Linked DNA regions of Homo sapiens: region 1 is linked to region 2. Evidence: promoter capture Hi-C in human tissues and cell types (Jung and others, 2019). All regions are on one chromosome and are shown on one strand. The core of a region is centred on a gene start or on the middle of the fragment in contact, and the rest is flanking DNA. Distances in the headings are between cores, read along the strand shown.

Evidence for each region. The method cuts DNA at HindIII sites, captures the fragments that hold promoters and counts their contacts. A contact is called where the count stands out against the background at its distance.
Region 1: a fragment that was not itself captured here is called in contact with the fragment with the promoter of LMO2 in region 2 in 1 of the 25 tissues and cell types used here (neural progenitor cells).

The regions. Positions count from the first base shown.
Region 1 is chr11:34,146,400-34,150,572 of GRCh38, reverse strand. NAT10 (N-acetyltransferase 10) reads right to left here. Exons shown (of 29, transcript NM_024662.3): 29 at 3,665-4,173. Among named protein-coding and RNA genes, the nearest start is that of NAT10, 43 kb to the right of the region's middle. RefSeq lists an enhancer at 124-653. The HindIII fragment of the contact is 4,598 bases long and covers 1-3,727 here.
Region 2 is chr11:33,889,752-33,894,464 of GRCh38, reverse strand. It overlaps LMO2 (LIM domain only 2), which reads left to right and starts at 2,389. Exons shown (of 6, transcript NM_005574.4): 1 at 2,389-2,670. It overlaps LOC105376621 (a long non-coding RNA gene), which reads right to left and starts at 519. Exons shown (of 3, transcript XR_931176.3): 1 at 430-519. RefSeq lists enhancers at 277-446, 2,824-2,933. The HindIII fragment of the contact is 12,407 bases long and covers 1-4,713 here.

The DNA.
Region 1 (4,173 bases), core at 179-2,678, 260 kb before region 2:
CCTGACCTGGCCTGATTGATTTGAGGGACCTATCCCTGGGTGACTGCTGCCCCCAGGCCCAGCTAAGCTAAGCTGGCTGTACCACCACAAGGCCACTAGCAGAGGTAATGGAGGGAGATGGTGAGGCGCCGACTCAGGTCCAAGAGTGTACTGGAGTTATGGCTGTAGTTTTAGGTGCAAAGTTCAGGCACAAATATAAGTTTTTAAAACATTCCCTGCCAGTTAGCTGGGCATAGTGGTGCACATCTGTATTCCCAGCTGCTCAGGAGGCTGAGGTGGGAGGATCACAGAGCCCAGGGGTTCGAGGCTGCAGTGAGCTATGATCACCCCTGCACCTCAGCCTGGACAACAAAGCAAGACTCTCTCTCAAAAAAAAAGTCGCCTGCCTGCCTGCCTGAAACAGGTATAGAAATTCCTAAGGTCACTGAGAACCTGAACCAAAGTGGCTGTGGGTCAGTGACCGGCCGTGACTCAGGCGTTAGGGGAACGACATAAAGATCCCAGTCCCTGGCAAAGCCCAATTCCAGCAGGAGCTGCGCAGGGCAGCTCGAGGCCCAGCCTGGGGACCTGTGGCCGCACAGACCCATGGTGCCCTCTGGGGGCCACTAGGAGGGGGCGCACTCCCCCACACCATCTTCCTGTGCAGTGGCCCAAGACGGTGGTGGAGCGGGCTGTCCGTCCCCAGCACTTGCCATTCAAAGTGGCTGCCCTTCATGGGTCTGTGTCCAGCGTCCCCACAAGTTCCCCCATCCCTGCAGGACATGCCTTGGTCCGTACCCAGCCTAGAAAGCAAGATCTAGTTGCATTCTGGCTCCAGATGAGGGATCCACCATTTCCTCTCTTGAGAGGGTGAGTGGGGGGTTGAGAGAAAGTGGAGGTAGGAAGGAGGGAGCGGGCCCCTTGGAGCCTGTGGGTAGCAGGAATACATTTTTGAATAAACATTTAAAATTAAAATAATTACCAAAAAAAAGCAGACATGCTTCCAAGGGGCTAGGACTCAAACAGAAATGATCACTTACCCAGGCAGCTGGACCTCCTAATTCCGGGCCACTGCTCACGGCCTGCCCTGCTCCGCCTGCTATGAGCAGCCACAGGCAGGCTTGGGGGAGTTACCCTCTTACTGGAGCCCTTGAGGACCCAGGTGCTGTGAGCATGGGTTGCATCTACAGGGATTTCACTCGGCTCCAGTGGGTCCACAGGCAAGCATAAGCTGGCGCCTTAGCCGTCTCCAAAGAAAACACCTCTCCAGAGGTGGCAGGTACCAGTCTGCTCCTGCACCGACAGGGCTAACACTGAGATTGTCCTTTTTGAGGCTGTCTGGTTTCTTTCCTGCATTCAAATCTTCTCCTGAAGCTTTCCTTTAGGCTCTCGGCCTGGAAGGCCAGTTATCCTTTTCCACATTAGTCCCCGTGCCAGATACCAGGTGGCTAGAGCTTTCTCAACGGAACCAGCCCAAGCAGGAAGCCCCGGCCTCTCCCTTTCAGGCTGCCTTTCAAGTCCGCTTTGCAGGATCCAGATGATGTTTAACTGGAACCAATTGTTTGTAGAATCAAGGGCATGCCCCCTCAGGGGCAATCCCCTGAAATTGTCTATTCCAGCCCAAGGGGCTTCCGACCCCACCCCCTCCTCCAGGCCTGCAGAATGGCTGCGGGTGTTGTAACAGGCCTCAGATAATGAGTCTACATTTTTCCAAGGTGACGGTCACTTATTTCTGCCCCTCCCCCACCTCCCAGCCTCAGCGGCCCCCTTTGTGTCCCGTCTCCTGGTCATCCGGAGTCCTCCGGGACTTCCGGGCCAGATGAGCAGTGGAAGCACTGAAGCAGGCCGGCATTAGCCCCGCCTGGCGAGGGGGTATGGGGGGTGACCATTTAGTAACCTTCTTTGTTCAGGCTTCTTCAGGCTCTTCCCCTTCTGGTGACAGCACTCATGGCTGGCCTATCTGAATTCATTTCGCAAGTGACATTTCCTAAGACAGCCAAGCTTTACAGATGTCACTCTGTCTGGGGGCCAGATGGTGAGGTGTGGGGGAGACATGCCTTTTCAGGTTTGAAGGAGAACCCAAGATCATGACCATAAAATGCAAAGACCCAAGCGTGTGTTTAGGAACACACACTTTGCAAATAAAGAGGCCTTGTCCAAGGATACAGAGATATTATACAGAGCCAGACAAGTCTGACTGCAAAATGCATGCTCTTCGCTGGCCAAGGGAGACTCCTTTTCTAGCTTAGGTTGTGGTTTTATAACATGGCCAGTCCTGGCCAAGTGTGGTGGCTCATGCCTCTAATCCCTATACTCTGGGAGGCCCAGGCGGATCACTTGAGGCCAGAGTTCCAGACCAACCTGGGCAACATATTGAGACTCCATCTGTACATAATTTTTAAAATTAGGCAGGTGTGGTGGTGAGCACCTTCCCAGCTGCTTGGAAGGCTGAGGTGGGAGAATGGCTTCAGCCCAAGAGTTCAAAGCTGCAATGAGCTATGATTGAGCCACCGCACTCCAGCTTGGGCAACAGAGCAAGACCCTGTCTGTTTTCAAAAGAACACCACAGCTAGTCCTTATTGAGTATTCTTAGAGCTGGCATGTAACTGAACTTGAGCGGCTCCTCTAGTTAGATCTGATGAGTGCCCAGAACCCAGAGGCACTTGCTATGTGCCAGGCACTGTTCTAAACGTTTCCCATTCTACCCCACCCACTTCTCACCACAGTCCCGTGACGGAGGTGCTATTCCTACCACTCAAATTTTGCAGAAATGGACCTGAAGGGCAGGTAGGATGAAGTAACCTGCCCAAGGCCACGGTGAGCGTCAGGGCAGAGCAGTCTACCTCCAGAGCCCTCACCTTGCACCCCAAAGCAGAGCCAGCCGGGGAGACTTTGAGGGTAGAGACACTAAACAAAAGCTTCCTTACCTGTAGGATGATATGCCTGGACAACTTGCACAGTCCCATCCAGCTCTGACCATTTGAGCATGTGACTCTGCTTCTGGCCACGGTCTAAGAAAACCCTCTTTGAAAGGCAGGTTCAGGCACCCACCTGAGAAAATAAATAAAAATTATTTTCATGCCCCCTCCCTGCCTCCAGCAAAATTTCCTACAGACCTAACAGAGGTCTGTGGCCAGGAAACTTCAGTCCCAAGAAACGAAAGACCCCTAGGCTCATGTCCTGACAGCCTCGGTGACAAGCCTCAGCAGCCCTAGGGTCGCATACAGAACCTGCTCTTCTCCCTGTGGGGACGAGTCCTAGGAGCTGTATATGAAATACCCTTAGGCTGAGAAGTTACCGTTTCCTTCCCTGTCCTTCTCTGAACCTAGACAACATATCGGGGCTGCAGACTCATTAGCCTGGATACCATTAAACAAACATACCAAAGTATGTGTAAAGCCACCAGGTTACCTCTGTTCCCAACAAATGGAAGGGACCAAGTGACCTGGAAGGAGCTGGGAAGGAAATGAGGCAGTTCTAGCTGGCTTCCAGCCACCACACCAAGCCCCTCGAGGTGACCATAGCCACCTGCCACTTCTCCCGCAGACTCCTGGGCTGGGAAGCCCTAGACACACTGCTCACCTTTGACCTTGATACCAACACCTTCCAAATTCCACCAGGCAGCCAAGACCCACCAGAAGAAACGTCCAGGTGCGTGGATTTCAGAACACTCACAGGCAGCTGATCTTTCTAGAATGTTATTTATTAAAAATAGATTCTCTATCCTTCCCCTCACCCCTGCGAGCAAAGTGGCCTTTCCCAACATCTTTTCCCAAATGGATGAAACAGGTCTTGAGGACGCAGATGTGGCATTCTACATAAACTACAGGATCAGGCTTTTCTGGGACAGTGGGTCTGCTGGAGCCAAGAGTGGAACAGCACAAGACAACATCAGCAAACCCTGGCGCACCTAACCGCGGGCTGCCATGGATGCCGGGACGGACTGGAGTTCCTCCTGCTCCAGGTACAAGTCCACAAAGAGAGACCCAGCGGCCCAGCAGCAGCCTCCTGGGCACCACCAGAAAGCGATGTACTTAAGGGCCTCAGGCGGTCGAGAGGCAACGTGGCTTCCACATGTGTGGGAATGAGACTAAAAAGCTGGCTCAAAGCAAAATATGAACTTATAGGAAAGGAGGGCCCTGGACTGGGCAGGAAGAGAGAGACTCGTGGCAATTCTAGAGATGGCAGTGCCCA
Region 2 (4,713 bases), core at 1,140-3,639:
CAACTGTGTCATTATAGTTCTCTGCCCTTCAGAAGATCTGATCTTAATACCCTTCTCTTCTTTTTGTCCCTCTGATTTCATCAAATTTGTTGCCATTCTGGGTGTTTCTCCTTCTCTCCCCGACTTTTTCTACTTCAGATCAAAGAACTTCCCCTTTTTCCCACTTTTGGATTTGCGCCCTGGAGGACAACGCAAGGTTAACTTCCCTCCCACCTCCTCTTGTAGGCACACAGGGTGCCCCTTAGCCAGCGAAATCTCCGCGCCCGAGATCCTCTCACAATTTCAGGCTGGTGAATTGTAGTAGGAGACATGGTTTAGTTTGATGTGGTTAAGTCAGTCATCATGGCATCTTCGTACCCTCAGCCCCAAACCGCTCTCCTACTCATCACCCTCACTTTCATTTCTTTGGATTATCTTTCATCGGCTTACCACCAGCCTTCACAGCCTCACCCAAGGCTGAAGCAGGGCTAGCAGGGTGGTGCGTTTCCTTCCCTGGTTGAGCTGGTGACTGCTGTGGGTAAGCAGGTCCAATGTGAACTCAATTTTACATTGAGAAAGAGAAAGCAAGAGTGAGTGGGCTGCTAAGACTGTTGCTTCATGGTTTCCCCTAAGCCCCAGAAATAGAAAGGCAGACTTCCGACTGGCAGAGCCCGTATGCTAACCACCAGACCACACTGCCAGATAAGAAAAATGTTCGATTGTGTCATACTTCCCTCATTGGCTCCAGTGTCTGAAAATGGCCCTGAATTTCAGAGAGTCTTACCATGACCCAGGGATTTAGAGAGGATCGAAGAGGGAGGACAAAGGAATCAGGCACCTTCTCTCTCTCTTTTCTGGGGTAAATTTATTTTCAACCACAAAAGTAAAGGAAAGAAAAAGTCACAACAGATGAGTTATGAGCTAACTTTCTGATTTGCACATGTAAGAGAAAGAAATGAACTGGATATCATTAGACATTGAGAAAGGGAGTCTGCAAGCTAGCAATGTATCTTCGGCCTTTTTGATTTACACGTGTTTATTTATGAGTACCTACTGTGTGCCAGGCATGATGCTTGGTGCTGCCAATTCAAAGAGAAATAAGACACCTCCTTGCAAAGTGAGAAGGCAGAACTAGATTCAGATTCACCTAGATTTCAACTCTTGTGCTCAGGCCACCACCACCACCATGGAAACAATTTTGCTTGACTCTCCCGGCGCAGCCGCGGCAGGCGTGTGTGTTGTCAGACACTGCAGGAAGAGTGATGGCCTGGGTGTTGACAGGCTCCTAATTGGAAGGTAGGAGGTGCCACCAGAGATCAGCTATAAAAGATATCTTTGGACTGGGGTGGGCTGCTAATGCTTGGAAGAGACTTGTGGGTGAGGCCCGGTGAGCTGTCACCTCGGAATTGGGCCTTGCCCAGCAGACAGACATGCATGCGGGGGAGGTAGCTGACAGACAGGGGCGCATGGGGAAGCAGCCATTCCAGAGAACTGCAACAGCAGATTGCAAACCAGGACTTCAGGACTCAGAGGGGGACAAGGAAAGGAGAGCCTATAGTGGCCCCAAAGCCCAGGGTCAGAGGCAGGGCCAGGAGAGCAGCTGACAAGAGCTTTATGGTAAGGACAAAAGAGAAGACAGCCGGAGTCTCCTTTTATTCAGCTCATAAAGACCCAACTTCTGTGCACTTATAACTGTTCAGACCCTGAGGGGTTCAAAAAAAGAACCGTGTTAGGAGAATTCAATATTTAATTAAGAGATGATCAGATCCGTGCACCGAAATTATTGCTGGGTAAGACAATACTGTGTGTGTTACATAGCATTGGAACTTAGGAAAGCTCTTTCCTTGTGTTGTTTAATTTAATCCACTCAACAACCCTGCAAAGTGGGTACCATTGTCCCTGTTTTTTATGAATGAGGGGGTGAGGTGCTGAGAAGCTGTGTACGTTATTTGAGTTTGTCTGGCTAGTCAGTGGCTGAGCCAAGTTCCAATCCAGGTCATGTGAGCCTCTGAACTTTCTGATAAAACCTGCAGACCCCCTTAACTGGGATAATATAGTCATGCATTAAGCAAGAAGGAGAAGTAAATACAGGCTGATGGTGTAGGGGAGAAATTCAAAGGGAGAAGGCCTAGGAGGGAGAGGGAGCTATGTGTGAACAGAACCAAAGATGGCCTCTGGGAATTGGAAGGTCTCTTGGAATTCGTCCAAACTGAGGATCACAAGTCTCCACATTCTGAGTAGGAGGATGAGGGTCTGAGTTAGGATTTGGGTCCTGCAGGGCTTGCTAAGGAATCCCCTGATGGCCTAGGATTCCACGCAGAGCACATCTGGTGTGAGAGAGCTCGCTGCAAGGGTGAAGGCTCCGCCCTATCAGATAGACAACCAGGCCACCAAGAGGCCCAGCCCTCCAAACCCTGGATTTGCAACATCCTCAAAGAACAGCAACGGGCCTTGAGCAGAATTGAGAAGGAAATACCCCCACCTGCCCTCAGCCGTTAAGTGGGCTTTGCTATTCACAAGGGCCTCTGGGTGTCCTGGCAGAGAGGGGAGATGGCACAGGCACCAGGTGCTAGGGTGCCAGGGCCTCCCGAGAAGGAACAGGTGCAAAGCAGGCAATTAGCCCAGAAGGTATCCGTGGGGCAGGCAGCCTAGATCTGATGGGGGAAGCCACCAGGATTACATCATCTGCTGGTGAGTAGGCTTCATTAATTCTCTGATGAATGGACGATTGCAAGGGAACTTTTTTCATCTTCAAGGAGCCAGAAGAAGTGGTGATTAAATTGGTCTTTTAAAATAAAAAGACTCCAAAGGGGTACAAGTCTTCAAGCTTCCCCTGTGGTGTTCCGGGCACTCTGGCTTCTCTTTCGGAGGGAGGAAGAGCATCTATTCATAGGCTGTGACTTGGAGAGGCCCCACGGTGAGTCAGGCGCTTGCTGTGTGAGCCGCTGGTTGCTAATGTCTTCGGGAACTGCTAATTTACCCATCTAATTTGTTCCTGTACACTGGCCACAAAGGGAGACCACTCAATTATTCTGATCCAAAAGAGAGGCTTGTGTTTACCATGATCTCCCCAGCAACTGTGTGAGTGTGTGTGCATGTGTGTGTGTGTGTGTGTGTGTGTGTGTGTGTGTGTGTGTGTTTGCCTAACAACCTTAGGCAATGACGAAGAGGTGGGGCTGCTGCCCTTGTTAGCATTTTCAAACACATTCCAGTTCTGAGTTGAGGGCAAAGATTGTAATGGGGTGCTTCAGAGAAGCCTTGGCTCCCAAGGAGGTTATAACTTCAAAGGGTGTTTTTGAAAAACCAAGGCGGATGAGGAAAGTGGCTACAAGTTCCTTCCATCACAGAGGATCAATGAAGGGGAACAAAGATTTGGGAGCATCTACTTTGTGCCAGGTACTGTGCTTGGGTTTTACACGTCTTCTCTTGTTGACTTTGCATAACTCCCCTTTGAAGCAGATATTACTCCAGGTTCTTGCCGTAATGTTTCAGCTTAAAGAAAACCAACCCATACTTCTTTAGGTTGCCCTGAAAAGGTGAATCTTCTGTGAAGCCTTTTCTGTCTTTATCTGTTAAAATTAATTAAGCTCTTGTTTGTGCTCCCAGAAAATCACTTTAGACCTTAGAAAGATGGCAGCCTCAGTTTTCTCATTTGTAATATAGGGGTACCCATAGGGTCATTGTGAGAAATAATAGAAATAAATCATGGAAGTGCTTGGATAGTAGCTGGTACTTAGCCCTCATCAGTCATCATTGTCATTGTTGTTAAGAGTAATAATAATAATAATATCACTTATTATAATTACTCACCTCTAGGTTTTTAAAAAACTTACAGGCCGGGCACATTGGCTAACGCCTGTAATCTTAGCACTTTGGGAGGCCAAGGCAGGCAGATCGCCTGAGGTCAGCAGTTCAAGACCAGCTTGGGCAACATGGTGAAACCCTGTCTCTACTAAAAATATGAAAATTAGCCACGCGTGGTGGCTCATCCCTGTAATCCCAGCTACTCGGGAGGCTGAGAGAGGAGAATTGCTTGAACCCGGGAGGCGGAGGTTGCAGTGAGCCAAGATGGCACTATTGCACTCCAGCCTGGGTGACGAGAAACTCCATCTCATAAAAACAAAAACAAAAACAAAAAAACTTACATAAATTTATGGGGAACAAGTACAATTTTGTGACAAGCGTAAATTGCATAGTCTTGAAGTCAGGGCTTCTAAGGTATCTATCACCAGATTGATATCTATTGGTATCTATCACCAGATTGATATCTATTGATATCTATCACCAGATTGATATCACCACATTGTACCTATTAATTAATTTCTCATCATCCTCCCCCCACCCTTCTGAGTCTCCAGTGTATATTATTCCATACCCTAATGCCATGTGTTCACATTATTTAGCTCCCACTTATGAGTGAACAGTGTGATATTTGTCTTTCAGTGTCTGACTTTTTTAACTTAAGATAACAGCTTCCAGTTCTACCCATGTGGCTGCGAGAGACATGATTTCATTCTTTTTTATGGCTGAATAATATTCCATTGCATATATATACACCACAGTTTTAAATCCAATCATCCATTGATGGACACTTAGGTTGATTCCACATCTTTGCTATTGTGACTAGTGCTACGATAAACATACAAGTGCAGGTATCTAATTATTTCTTTTCCTTTGGATGGATACCCAGTAGTGGGATTGCTGGATTGAATGGTAGTTCTAATTTTAGTTCTC